Linked DNA regions of Homo sapiens: region 1 is linked to region 2. The links are contacts of gene promoters, found by promoter capture Hi-C in blood cells and fetal thymus (Javierre and others, 2016). All regions are on one chromosome and are shown on one strand. The core of a region is centred on a gene start or on the middle of the fragment in contact, and the rest is flanking DNA. Distances in the headings are between cores, read along the strand shown. Region 1 holds the start of CLTC (clathrin heavy chain). Region 2 holds the start of MED13 (mediator complex subunit 13).

The links. The method cuts DNA at HindIII sites, captures the fragments that hold promoters and counts their contacts. A CHiCAGO score of 5 or more calls a contact.
Region 1: a fragment that was not itself captured here is called in contact with the fragment with the promoter of MED13 in region 2 in 1 of 17 cell types (fetal thymus); the score reaches 6.4 in fetal thymus.

What each region holds. Positions count from the first base shown.
Region 1 is chr17:59,619,785-59,626,325 of GRCh38, reverse strand. CLTC (clathrin heavy chain) reads right to left here and starts at 6,431. Exons shown (of 32, transcript NM_004859.4): 1 at 6,153-6,431. The coding sequence starts at 6,194. RefSeq lists enhancers at 6,344-6,541, 6,368-6,541. The HindIII fragment of the contact is 1,938 bases long and covers 4,064-6,001 here.
Region 2 is chr17:62,063,610-62,070,095 of GRCh38, reverse strand. MED13 (mediator complex subunit 13) reads left to right here and starts at 4,818. Exons shown (of 30, transcript NM_005121.3): 1 at 4,818-4,956. The coding sequence starts at 4,891. RefSeq lists silencers at 4,028-4,107, 4,898-5,177 and enhancers at 4,158-4,417, 5,328-5,427. The HindIII fragment of the contact is 3,767 bases long and covers 4,043-6,486 here.

The DNA of each region.
Region 1 (6,541 bases), core at 3,783-6,282, 2.4 Mb after region 2:
TCAACTTTGTATCATATCAATATTTGTATTAAACTGTGCACAATATCAAATGTTCGAACACATAAAAGATCCACAATCAAGTAGACAACATCAATGGTTGGAATAACAAGTGTACAGCCTTTGCCAACTCATCAATGGAAGCATGAATGCAAGGTGTAGTCCATCTTGTTTACCACCTTGTCCCTAGAGTCTAACACAGTTCCTCATCTGCAGTAAGTACTCAAATCTTAGGTAAATGTGTTAACCCCAAATACTTATACACCATAAAACACTGGATCTGTAAATGAATATTGTGTCATTGGTTGAGATACCTGAATAAAATGTACTGGACAAAAATTATTTAGCCAATAATTAATGCTCCTAAAATGCTACGTAAAGTACTTTCACATACATGATCTCAGATCCTCATAATAACTTTGTGAGATAAGTATGCCCATTTCCCAGAGAAAAAAAAGCAAGAGGTTAGACTTAACCTGTGTTGTCCAATATGGTAACCACAAGTCACAACCTACATACCATAATGAGCACTTGAAATGTGGTTACCGTAATTTTAAAGTAATTAAAATTAAATAATAACCAGTAAGTGATTCAATTACTGGAAAACTTAAGTATGTTTGGGATCACTGAAGTATTGCATATCTGCTTTCCTTTTTCTTCATTTTTGTTTGTTTAATATAGAGACGAGGTCTTAACTCTGTTACCCAGGCTGGTCTTGAATTCCTGGGCTCAAACAATGCTCCTACCTTGGCTCACAAAGTGCTGAGTTTACAGGCATGAGCCACTACCCCCAGCCCCAAATCTGCCTTTCTAACTGTAAATTTTATGAACTCTAAATACGGACCAGGATTTCCAAAGAAAATAGGGTCTGAATTGATATATGCTCTAAGTACAAAATATACATAGCCGGGCACGGTGGCTCACACCTGTAATCCTAACACTTCGGGAGGCCGAGGCAGGCATTTCACGAGGTCAAGAGATTGAGACCATCCTGACCAACATGGTGAAACCCCATCTTTACTAAAAATACCAAAAAATAAAAATAAAAAAAAAATAGCTGGGCGTGGTAGCACGCGCCTGTAGTCCCAGCGACTCGGGAGGCAGAGGCAGAAGAATCACTTGAACCTGGAAGGCGGAGGTTGCAATGAGCCGAGATCCACCATTGCACTCCAGCCTGGCGACAGAGTGAGACTTTGTCTCAAAAAAAAAGAAAAAAAAACCACACACACTAGATTTAGAAAATTTAGTATGAAAAAGAATGTAAGGTATCTCATTAGTAAATTTTATACTGATTACATATTGAAATAATATTTTGCATATCCCAAGTTAAATAAAATATATTAAATTTAATTTTATCTGGGCATGGCATGGTGACTCACGCCTGTAATCCCAGCACTTTGGGAGGCCAAGGCGAGCAGATCACTTGAGCCCAATAATTTGAGACCAGCCTGAGCAATATAGCAAGACTCTGTCTCTACCAAAAAAACCCAAAATTAATTAATTTTATGTTTTTTCACTTTTAATATGGCTGCTAGAAAACTTAAAAAATTATTTATATGAGGCCAGGAGCAGCAGCTCATGCCTATAATCCCAGCACTTTGGGAGGTCGAGGTGGGCAGATCATTTGAAGTCAGGAGTTGAAGACCAGCCTGGCCAACATGGTAAAACCCCATCTCTACTAAAAATGGAAAAATTAGCCAGGCATGGTGGCAGACACCTAAAATCCCAGCTACTTGGGAGGCTGAGGCAGGAGAATCACTTGAACCTGGCAGGTGGAGGTTGCTGTGAGCCGAGATCGCACCACTGCACACTAGTCTAGGTGACAGAGGACAGAGTGAGACTCTGTCTCAAAAAAAAAAAAAAAAAAAAAAAAAGTATGTGGCTCATATTATTTTTCTATTGGACAGCATTTGTTTCAACAACCCCTAAAGCCCTCCCTGTTCTGTCTACTATACCACATTGTTAATCTATAAACAAGTAGAGAGAACTCACCTCTCTGGGCCTAAGTCCAACAGACAAAAAGCACTCTAGGATACTGTATAACTTCTTTTTTTAAGGTCAATTATCCAATTTCTTTGAAATATTTTGTGTCAGAAGACTCAGGTACACATCCCATTCGGACAGCATTCCCACTACTTTATGAGTCTCACTTTTTAGAAAGGTGTCTGGGGGGATTGAGTGAAGATCTGAAAGTACCTAGCCAAATTTACAGCACATAATAAGGTCTCAAGAAGTCTGCTGCTAGTCATTGTTCATCACCACCACTTTCCAAGACAGACAGTATTCAGTTAAAACTTTTGAACAATGAGTGTTTTAATTTTAGCTAACGAAATATTCTAAATACATAAACATGAGTGGTGAGATAAATCTTCAAACTTACAAAACACATCAGCATGGCCTATAATTGTGCAGTCCAATGTAGGAGTCAATTGTCACATGTGGCTATTTACATTTAAATTAAAAAGAAATTAAAGCAAAAATTTAGTTTTTCAGTCACATCAGCCACATTTCAAGTGCTCAATATCCCTATGTAGCTGGTAGACAGTTCCATCATTGAAGAAAGTTCTACTGGACAATAACTCAAAGAGAAAAAGCCACAACGGTAACAATGACAGGGAAAACACCTTGTTAAATATAATTTGAATAACATATAAACATATGTATGGAAAAAACAATTTTGCAAAGAAGCTGAGGATTCGATATAAATGGAATCTTTTAAAAGCAAGGTACAAATTCCAATTATGGTCAGAAACAATTGTTCAAGAGCAACTACCATGGTTCCTGAAATGTGAATTTTCCTAAATACTCAAATGAAAATGATTGTGTTCTACATACACACCATTCTGTGTCTTATTTCCTAATCAGAGTGAAAGCACTTTCACTAAAATTAACCACACACTTTAAGCTGGGTAAACTGACCATCAAGAAAATTCTGAAGAATATGATACATTTTAAACTTAGAAGCTATTCCCAGGAGACTGCCGCATAATTCCAGGAAGTCTACCTCTTCCAGAGAGTACAACTAAGCATGTAGTAAATCCCAGTACTTAGCATTGCTTTCTATTCACAATCCGAACTAACTATAGCAAGAACCCCTAACATTTGACTCAACAACACATTCCATGCCTGCATCTATGGATCAAAGGGGAAAGAACAGGGTAGGGAGATTTTTAATTGAAGACCCAAAGAATCTAGGAATACAATGGAATGTGTCAAGTGGCCTAAAGATACTTAATGTGCCAGAAAATTGAAAATCACCAAAAAATTAAGAATCACAGGCAATATTTTATATATGTAGCCTAGGATTTTTATAGAATCTTCAATTCCAACAGTATCTTGCTCAAATAGGCACTCATTTATTAACTGCTATCAGTCTAAACAGTCTAGGAAAAGAGAAATCTTCATATATTCACATTCATTTGCTGTAGGTCCAAGCTTTGATGACAAGAGATCCTTCAGTTGGACAATGTAGTTAAAGGGTATAAAAATAAGTTCATTTACAGTTTCACAAGGTAACTCTACACTCACACTTAAGTTCCCCATTTCTTGTTTCCAGTTTTTATCCTACGTGTTTCAGAAAGTTTTCTGCTACTTAGCAAACTGGTAGAAGCTCAGAGGTCAAAGACCAAAGATGCCAATTAAAATAATCCTTATTAGTTGGGCTCGGTGGTTCACACCTATTATCCCAGCACTTTGGGAGGTCAAGGCAAAGGATTGCTTGAGCCCAGGCATTCGAGACTAGCCTGGGCAACATGAAACTCCATCTCTACAAAAAATACAAAAATTAGCCAGGTGTGGTGGCTCATGGCTGTAGTCCCAGCTACTCAGGATGCTGAGGTGGGAGGATGGCTTGAGCCCAGTAGGTCAAGGCTGCAGTGAGCTGTGATGGTGCCACTGACCTCCAGCAAAAACCCTGTCTCCTCAAAAAAACAAAATGCTTATTAATTTTTAAAAAGGGAGGAGATAATGATATGAAGTTAGGAGATATATTATCATGAAAGAGGCTGTAGTTATTTGGGCTCCACAATTAATCAACTGGAGCACAGTCATATTAGCTAAGCAAGCTTAAGTTTAGGCATGACATAGCAATCCAAAACACAGAGGACTGAATTTTTCAATTTGCAAATCGCTTTATATTCAAAATCTTCAAATTATTTGAGAAGAAAATGGCTTCATTCAAGCATCTGCAGAAACTTTGATCCAGTTACAAAACAGACATGTATTAAATTTGTCTTTAATAAGTGACAAGGTTGGGTTCGAATCTTTGGGATCATTTAACAATTCTTGTCTCCTCTTTAAAAGAAATGAAAAGCTATTACTCCAACCACCACAAGATTTAGTAGTGAGCTACACATCTGCCGTGGAAAATAAAGAGCAGCTGTACTTGATTCTCTGTGTGGTTTATAAACATTTGTCTGCAGAAAGATATTTCAGATGCAGTTTAATATGAAAATAAGCCCGCGTTTTCCCCTCACACTTAAGAACAGCACCCCTCAACTCTCCACATTCATTTGCCACCCCACTTTAACAAAAGCAACCACAGCAACTAAACTTGGATTGATCAAAAAAAAATGTCCATTTTGTTATTTAACATTTTTAACCCTCTGTAAAAGTGTTTTTATTGCCAAGGTATATTCCATTACTTCAGATGAGTTATTTGAAAATTATAGATGACTGAGGAAAGTGCATTATTTAACTCATTTTATGGGTAAAAATTTATTATTCTTTACATTTCAAGCCTTAAAGGAAAATAAGTCCTTGCTAGTGCAAACATGGTAATACTTGCAAAGAAATATGAAATTATGTTACTTATAGCCTGAATGTTAAAACCTTTTATTAACAAGAATCCTTTATGTATGCTATGCCAATGGGGAAATGTAAATAAAAATGGTCTTCAATGGTAAAGTGTCTAATAGGTCACTGATATCAGTGTCATGTCAAACCACTGCATTCCCTGTCATTATGGAATTAGCCCTTCAGACGACTGAGCTGAGGCAGGTTTCTTTAAGGGGATATTTGGGAAGAAAGCAAATTAATAGGAATAAATTATTTAAGCTACAGTAAAAAACAGGATTGGTGACACAGGAAAATCAAAAGCTCTGAAGAGGTTTAATTCAGTGAAGCCTTCCAATGGTCACCTGCCTAGGCCCGCCACTGGCATGTTGCCAGATAACAATATGTTGCCTCCAGGATAAGGAACCATGGGGAAGAACTCTAGAACTTACTAAAGGGAAGCCAGTCACAGACCAAATAGCCCTGCAGGTCTCAGAGCAGCTGTGCTGTCCCCAGGGCTCTGTTCAATTCCATGCGATCCTGAAGAAGATATTCAAAACTACCTGCTACTACTCGAGAAGACTAAAAGATAACCTCTGTATCACTCTTTCCTACCTTCCAGAACCAAAGAGGGGTTAAGAGCCACAACATCCCCAGAGAAATAAAAAAAGGGGGAAGGGGAGGCGAGTTTCCTTAGGGAGTTTGACCGCACACACTCTGAGATTGACATAGCTCTAAGAAATGCGTTCTCCCATTCTACCCTCGTTCCGTTCTTTCAGTGACCTTCTGTCCCTACTGCCTCAGGGAAGGCAAGAGAAAAGCCACCGCCTCACCACCACCCCCAACCCCCACCACCGGAGAAGGTGCCTTTCTCAGTTGAGAGCCGCAGAGGGAGGGAAAAAAAAGGTTGCTCCTCCCCAACCCACCCGCCCCACAACTCCTGGGTGCAGACACGATGAGGGAAAGAGGAGAGCAATGGAAGGTGACAGCCCCGCACTGGCCCAGGGGATAAGAATCCTTGCTCTGGTAGAAACAAGGGAGAATCCCCCTCCCACTCCCCTACCCAAATGAATGAAATGAATAAAATGGGGAGAGAGTTTGTACGCGCAGTTCTGGCCATCCAGGAAGCAAGATCGAGAGGCCTTTGGATCCAGGCCTGGTCCTTGCAGCTCTTTGCACCCCAACTCCTGTCCTTTCCATCCAAGCCCCACATCATTTAATATTTTAAGCTTTCCAAGATAGTGCCCCCTCCTCCACCTACCCCAATCACCGACAACCCCCCCGCCCCTCCAGCTCCGATACTGCTCGGGCCCAGACTCCAGCGTCTTCCATCCTTCCTACCACCTTCTCCACAGCCCTCACCAGCCCGGGCCCGGCCGCACCTGGAGATGCTCCTGAAAACGAATTGGCAGAATCTGGGCCATGGCGCTGTCGGGGGTTATGGTCTCCTCCTGTCACTGGGGCTGCGGGGCAGTGGCTGCCCGGGCTCTCCAAGGGAGAGGAGGAGAAGGGGAGGGGGGAGGCTGGGCTCAGCAGGATCCTCTCCGGGGACGCAGGAAACTGGCAGGCAGACGAAAGAGCTCGGGTCGGGGGCGGAGGCTCCAGGGGCCAGGAGAGCCGCAATGGCGGAACCGGGCGCAGCGCAGACTCCGGAAACGGCTGAGCCCAGCGGAAGGATCCCGGCGACAGAACTCCGCCCAGTCGCCTCACCCCCTCCGCCTTATGTACCCCTCCACGGAGCGCCGCGCGCGGCGGGCGCAGGAATTCGGGG
Region 2 (6,486 bases), core at 3,569-6,068:
ACAATATGGAGCATCAGGGGCCCTTTCCTGGACTTGTCTGTCTCAGGTGATGTAACTCTGTCACCTTCCTGGAGGCTAAGTGGTAGTTTGTAAGCCAGTGCCTCTACCATCTCATTCAGAATGGAGACCCTACAAGACAGAAGGGGTTACAAAACAGTTTTAAATGCAGATCATTGAGTGAATCCATATTTCAAAGAACAGAAGACAGTCGGTGATTATTGACCCAGATTATTGACCCAAAGTAACCTCTAAAATTAACCTTAAAATTCCTGATTGGCTCCTATTTTACTTGGATTATCTCTTTTAATCATTGCAACAACTCTGACATTTAGGTGCTATTATTACATACACATTCAACAAAGGGGTAAATTGAAGTTAGGGAGCTAGCAAGCATGGAGTTCTGCTTGTTTGCTTGCTTTTTGAGACAGGGTCTCACTCTGTCACCCAGGCTGGAGTGCAGTGGTGCAATCTTAACTTCCCAGGCTTAATCAACCTCCCCACCTCTACCTCCCAAGTAGCTAGGACTACAGGCACGTGTCACCACGCCCGGCTAATTTTTTTATTTTTTTTGCAGCGGGGGGTTTCGTCATGCTGCCCAGGTTGGTCTCAAACTCCTGGGTTCAAGCAATCTGCCCACCTCAGCCTCCCAAAGTGCTGGGATTACAGGCATGAGCCACCGTGCTGGGCCAAGTATGGAGTTTTGACCCCAGTTGGTCTAACTGTTCAAGTGCCATTATAAGCAAGATTATGAGCTGCTTGTATATGCTGTATTTTGTCAATACATGACCTGACACATACTAGATGGTTAATACATGTGGGTAGTTAAGTGGTCATATAGTATGATCTCAACCATGTAGGAAAAAGATACATAGGGAAAAGTCAATACATCAAAATGTTAAAAAGTGATTAATTATGAATGGTAATGATACGGACTTTTTTGGGTAATGTACATTTAAAATTTTCATCTTTACGCTTTTATGTATCTGCCAAACTTTTGACAATGTGTGTGTAATGTTTTTATTTATTTATTTTGAGATAGAGTCTCACCCTGTCACCCAGGCTGGAGTGCAGTGGCGTGATCTTGGCTCACTGCAACCTCTGCCTCCCGGGTTCAAGCAATTCTCCTGTCTCAGCCTCCCAAGTAGCTGGGACTATAGGCATGTGCCACCACGCCTGGCTAATTTTTGTATTTTTAGTAGAGATGGGGTTTCACCATGTTGGCCAGGCTGGTTTTGAACTCCTGACCTCAGGTGATCCACCTGCCTCGGCTTCCCAAAGTGCTGGGATTACAAGCGTGACACAGCACACCTGGCCGACAATATGTGTGTAATGTTTTTAGTTATTTCCATTACTTTTTAAAAATCCCATATAACTCCTGCCCCCACACATACACAGCCTCCCTCATTATCAACATCCCCCACCAGGATGGTATACCCAAAGTCCGTATTTCCATTACTCTCTTTTTCTTTTTTTTGAGAACGGAGTCTCACTCTGTCGCCCAGGCTGGTGTGCAGTGGCGCGATCTCAGCTCACTGCAAGCTCCGCCTCCCGGGTTCACGCCATTCTCCTGCCTCAGCCTCCCGAGTAGCTGAGACTACAGGCGCCCGCCTTTTTGTGTTTTTAGTAGAGACAGGGTTTCACCGTGTTAGCCAGGATGGTCTTGATCTCCTGGCCTCATGATCTGCCCGCCTCGGCCTCCCAAAGTGCTGGGATTACAGGCGTGAGCCACTGCACCCGGCCTCCATTACTCTTTAAATCACACAAAATGTCATTTTTACCGAATGTAAGTGGTTACTGATACGTTCTTTGTGGGCTGAAAATATTTATTTCTTCTCTTTCCCTTCTCCCAATGATTCCATTCCCCTCACAACTGGGATCCCCCCCATTCTAATCTGCTTCTCCATTCTCTCAGTCCTGTCTTTCTCTCTCTCTCCTGCTCCCTTCTGCGATCCTCCATCAGACTTTTTCTTCTGGGTCTTCCTCCCTTCTTCGCTTCTGTCTCCTTGTCTCCCTCTTCTTTTTGAAAAGATTGACATTCAAACAGAAAGGTCAATCAAATGTTACCTCCTACTGGTAGGTTTCAGGTATATTCTACCTGCCATTGGAATCCTGAGGATGGTGCTCAAGTCAGGGGGTGGGGGCAATGGGAGGGCAAGACTTCTAAGGAGAATGGAGACCCCTTTAGATGTGAGGAGGGCATTTCAGCCTGAGGAAAGCAGCGGAACAAAGATCTGAGGAGTTTTTCAGGGAACGGGAAATGGGCAGAGGAGCGCTTACCTCATTGGATCTGGGGATTGCTGTCTCCTGGTGCTGGCACTCGGTTATAAAGGATGCCAACCTTAGTTGATTTGAGCTCCTGGATTGAATTAGTCCTGGTTGCATAATTGACTTTGATATGTGGACTTTGGGTTCGAATTAGGTTTAATAAGATTTAACTGCTTCAAAGGGCTTTATAAGAATTCATTTTATCCTTCAAATCTGATTTCAAATGCTACCTACTTTATGACAACTTCTCTAAGTTTGATGCTCTTCTTCTAGTGCACTTACTATGCCATAGTAGGTACATACTTTATTCAAGCAATTACCCCCATTGTATTTTACCTTATTCTGTAGGAAATGTTTCCTTTAGTGCCTCTCTTCAGGAATCTTGAGGGACAGGCAGGTATCTTATTCCTATTTGTATCCTAGGCCTAGCACAGAGCAGGAACACACTCAATTGAGCCAGCAGGTTCTCAATGATTTTTAAAATTACATTAATAATTAACATTAAGTAAGCACTGTGGCAAGCACTGTATCTACATTGTTTCATTCACCAGTCATTTTAGAAGAAAAGTACTTTTATTACCCCCATTTTACAATAACCGAGAGAAAGCAAAATTAATTTGATCTAAGGTCAAATATGATCTAAGACTAACTAGTGAGGGGCAGAACTTTTTCTCCAGGCTTTGGGCTTCAGATCTGGGCTCTTCACCACCACAGATGAACAAGTGGATAAATGAGGACTTCTTTTCATTCCGTGGCTGAAGAAGTGACATGGAAGAGTCTACCATTCATTTTACAGATACAATTATGTATCTGTAATACATAATACATAATTATGTATCTGTAATACATAAAATTACAGTAAGTCCTAACTCACTGATGTTTCTAACTTCTGAATCATCTTTTTCTTCTTCTTTCTTTCTTGCAATCCTAAAACCGTCAGAGAAACTGTTTTGAACTCATATTGAAGTGTAACCCATCCAAGCACTGGGTGTTTTATGGGAAAGAGAATAAACCTTTTGTTTGGTTCTTACTTCTTACCACCCATTCATTTGTAACTATACAAATATCAAGCACCTACTGTGTGCTAGGAACCTTTTTTTAGGCACTAGAGAGACAGAAGTAAACAACAAAAAAATAGTGAGACCTTTACATACACTAGTTCTCCTGCTCGTCACAATAACTATATGAGGTAATGATGACAACAATAATAGTTAACTCTTAACAGTGCTTATCTGTGCGGGGCACTGGGCTACCTGCTTAATTTGTATTAACTCATTACAATAAGCTTGTGGGGTAAGGGATATGTTTTCCCCATTTTACAGATGAGTAAAGACACAGAGCAGGAAGTGATTTGCTCAAGCTTGGAACCCAGGCAGTGTGGCTCTAATTCCCAGTCTATTAACTACAGGGCAATATTTTGTTTCTTAAATTTATATCTTCATATCACAACTTTTAGGTTGAGGAGTCTTATCCCCATCCAGATCATCTGACTCCCAAATCCAGAGGTTTGCACCTGCACCCCAGCGGCCTCGCGAAATAAATGAGAATGTCTTGGAATTTTTGCCAATACTTTCTCTTCCAAAGAACTCAAACTGATTTCCACGTAATTCTCACTGATTTGTGAAATGAACCTTCCTGGACTGTAAATTTCCCCGCAAAGAGAGGGCCAGGGCCCCGGGTCGTTTTATACTGGCCGGGGCACCCAGCAGATGGCGCTATGTTAGTGGCCACCAGCTGGCTGCCCCGTCCCCCGAGCTCACCGCCTCCGCCGAAAGCTTCCCGGCCCTCCCTCGCTCACTTCTCTCTCCCCCTCCCAACCGAGCCCGGGCCCACGTGACCTCAAGGCGGCCAATGGGTGAGCAGAGAGGGCGAGCTGGTCCCTGTGGCCGCCATTAAAGCGAAGGGAAAACCCGTGAATTCGGATTAAAGGGGGAAAAACACCGCCCGCTGGGCCCACAAAATGGGGGAGACTACGGCGTCCAGCCGGTGAGGCCACAGGAGGGCAAACTTTAGGCCGGCTTGGCCCAGGAACGACACGAAGACAGAGCCAGAGAATGGTCTGAGCCCGCAGACGCCGCCACCACCTCCGCCGCTGAGGAGACTCTGGGCTTAAGGACATCGCCGCTGCCGCGCCGGGGGCCTGGGCTTCTCTCCCGGTTCTCGCCCTTCCCGCTCCTGTGCGGGCGCCTCTCCGCCCGGGAGAACCGTCCTGGGCTTGGGCTCTGCCGTCTCGGACTTGATTTTGATTATTTATTGTGTAATTTATTATTTTTCTTGTGGTAGGGGCACACATCCCCTCCGTCCCCCAGAGAGGGACGAGCGTCTGCGGGATCCGCAGTCCGGCCCGCCAGGCGAGCGCGGCGCGGCCCTCCCGCCTCCGGCCCTCGGCCCCGGGCGGCTGGGTGCCGGCCGGGCGGCGGGGGCTGCTCGCGGCGGCGGCGGCGGCGGCGGCGGCGGGGGGGTGGGTGGGGAGGGCGGGCGCCCGGCGGCCTCCTCTTCCACCGCCCCCCCAACCACTACCCCCCCCCCGGCCCTCCCCGGTGTCTGTGTTTCTCTCTCTGGTCGGAGGCGGCGGTAATGGCGGATGGTGGGTTGTGGCGCCGGCGGCGGCTGCTGTGAGGGACGATGAGTGCCTCCTTCGTGCCGAACGGGGCCAGCCTGGAAGATTGTCACTGTAACCTCTTCTGCCTGGTGAGTGCCGGGGCCGGCGGGCGCCGAGGGAGGGGGGCCGCGAGGTGCGCCCTTGGGCCGTGGGGGAGGGGGCCGGGTCTGGTCCAGATGCCCGAGTTCCCGGGCGAGGCCCAGCCGGAGCCGGCGCCCTGCGAAGCTCCGCGGCCAGCCCCGGGAGGCGGCGTTCGCTCTCCTACGGTCCCGGGCTCTGTTTAGGGGAGTGTTGGCATTTTTTCTCGTCTTGTTTCGGACTCTCCTTCTCACCGTAGTCTCGTCCTCAACTTGAGCTCCTTATCTGGCAGGACAGTAACCTTTCCCTCTTGTCTTGCTTAACTGTTGCTTTTCTCCTTATTGGCCCTGTATCCCTGCTTCACACTTTACATTATTGCCCCTGCTCCCCACCGCCTTTATGTCTTACCCTTTTAATTTGGTTTCCCCATGTAAACAGGACCCCAGAACTTAAGCCCTAGAAACCTGTCTTGGTTTTACATTTTTTTTGTATGAGTCAAACTAACGCCAGGTTAGTTTCTTTCTTGGGTGACTTAAGATCTCTCTGTAAAAGCCAGTAGGTGCCATTTCATATGTTTTCTTTTTAAACTTTGAAAACAGTTTGCCATTTTTGACAATTTCTAGCCATCTTGCTTTTATTAGAACATGATGTTTTTGTGAGAGTGAAGGGGGCTAGTGGACGAGGTGCTGTGGTTTTGCACTGTTTCTATATTTATTGTGTTTTGGTTGCTTTTTCAGAATGTTTTGAGCAGGCTGCTCCCTTGTTTGATTGAAATGGAAAGTCGAGAGAAGCGGGATGTAGGGATGATCATTGTGTAGGTTAGCCCAGGTCTGGTAACATCCAACAGTTAAGGCTTTCAGAAGTACCAACTGTTGCAAATAACTTGTCCTGTATGGGACAGTAGCTGAGCTTCATCAATGACTTTAAGTTTGGGTGACTTTACTTTTTCATTTTCTCCTTTGTGCTATGAGAAATATTAAGAGTATATGATAGGTAAGTGAGTTAAGTGGGAGGAGCACAACTAGTTGGCAAGTGTAAACTGCCAGTCATGTATCAGCAGTTTCATTTTTGGCACCTTATGCTTTGCTCCTTTAAGTTAGATTAAATTACTGAATTCCTCTTGTCGAATTTCTTAACGCCCATGCTAAATTGAGATCTTTAATACTCTATCCTCGTCTACAGTATGTTTTTCTTTTCAATGTCCATTAATCAGCATCTCTTCACATGTAATAAGACATACACCAGGTTTTATATTTCTATCTTATCCAACTCAGTCTATTTTTGGTACTTTTAGGATCAGTTCTTTGAAGATAGACTAGCACAAATCTGACAGTTCTTTGTGAGTAGCTATTTGACTTTTCCGACAGGGGTGTGTGTGAAGAATTAACATAGATTTTTTCAGAACTTGTTCAGATGTCTTTTCATTAGAGACGTTACTTCTGTAAATGTGGAATAAAAACCCATGATAGGGTCTTTAATAATTGATTTTCAGTTAAAAGTTTGACACCAGTGAACAAATGTGACCAGTTAGGACAGAGAAA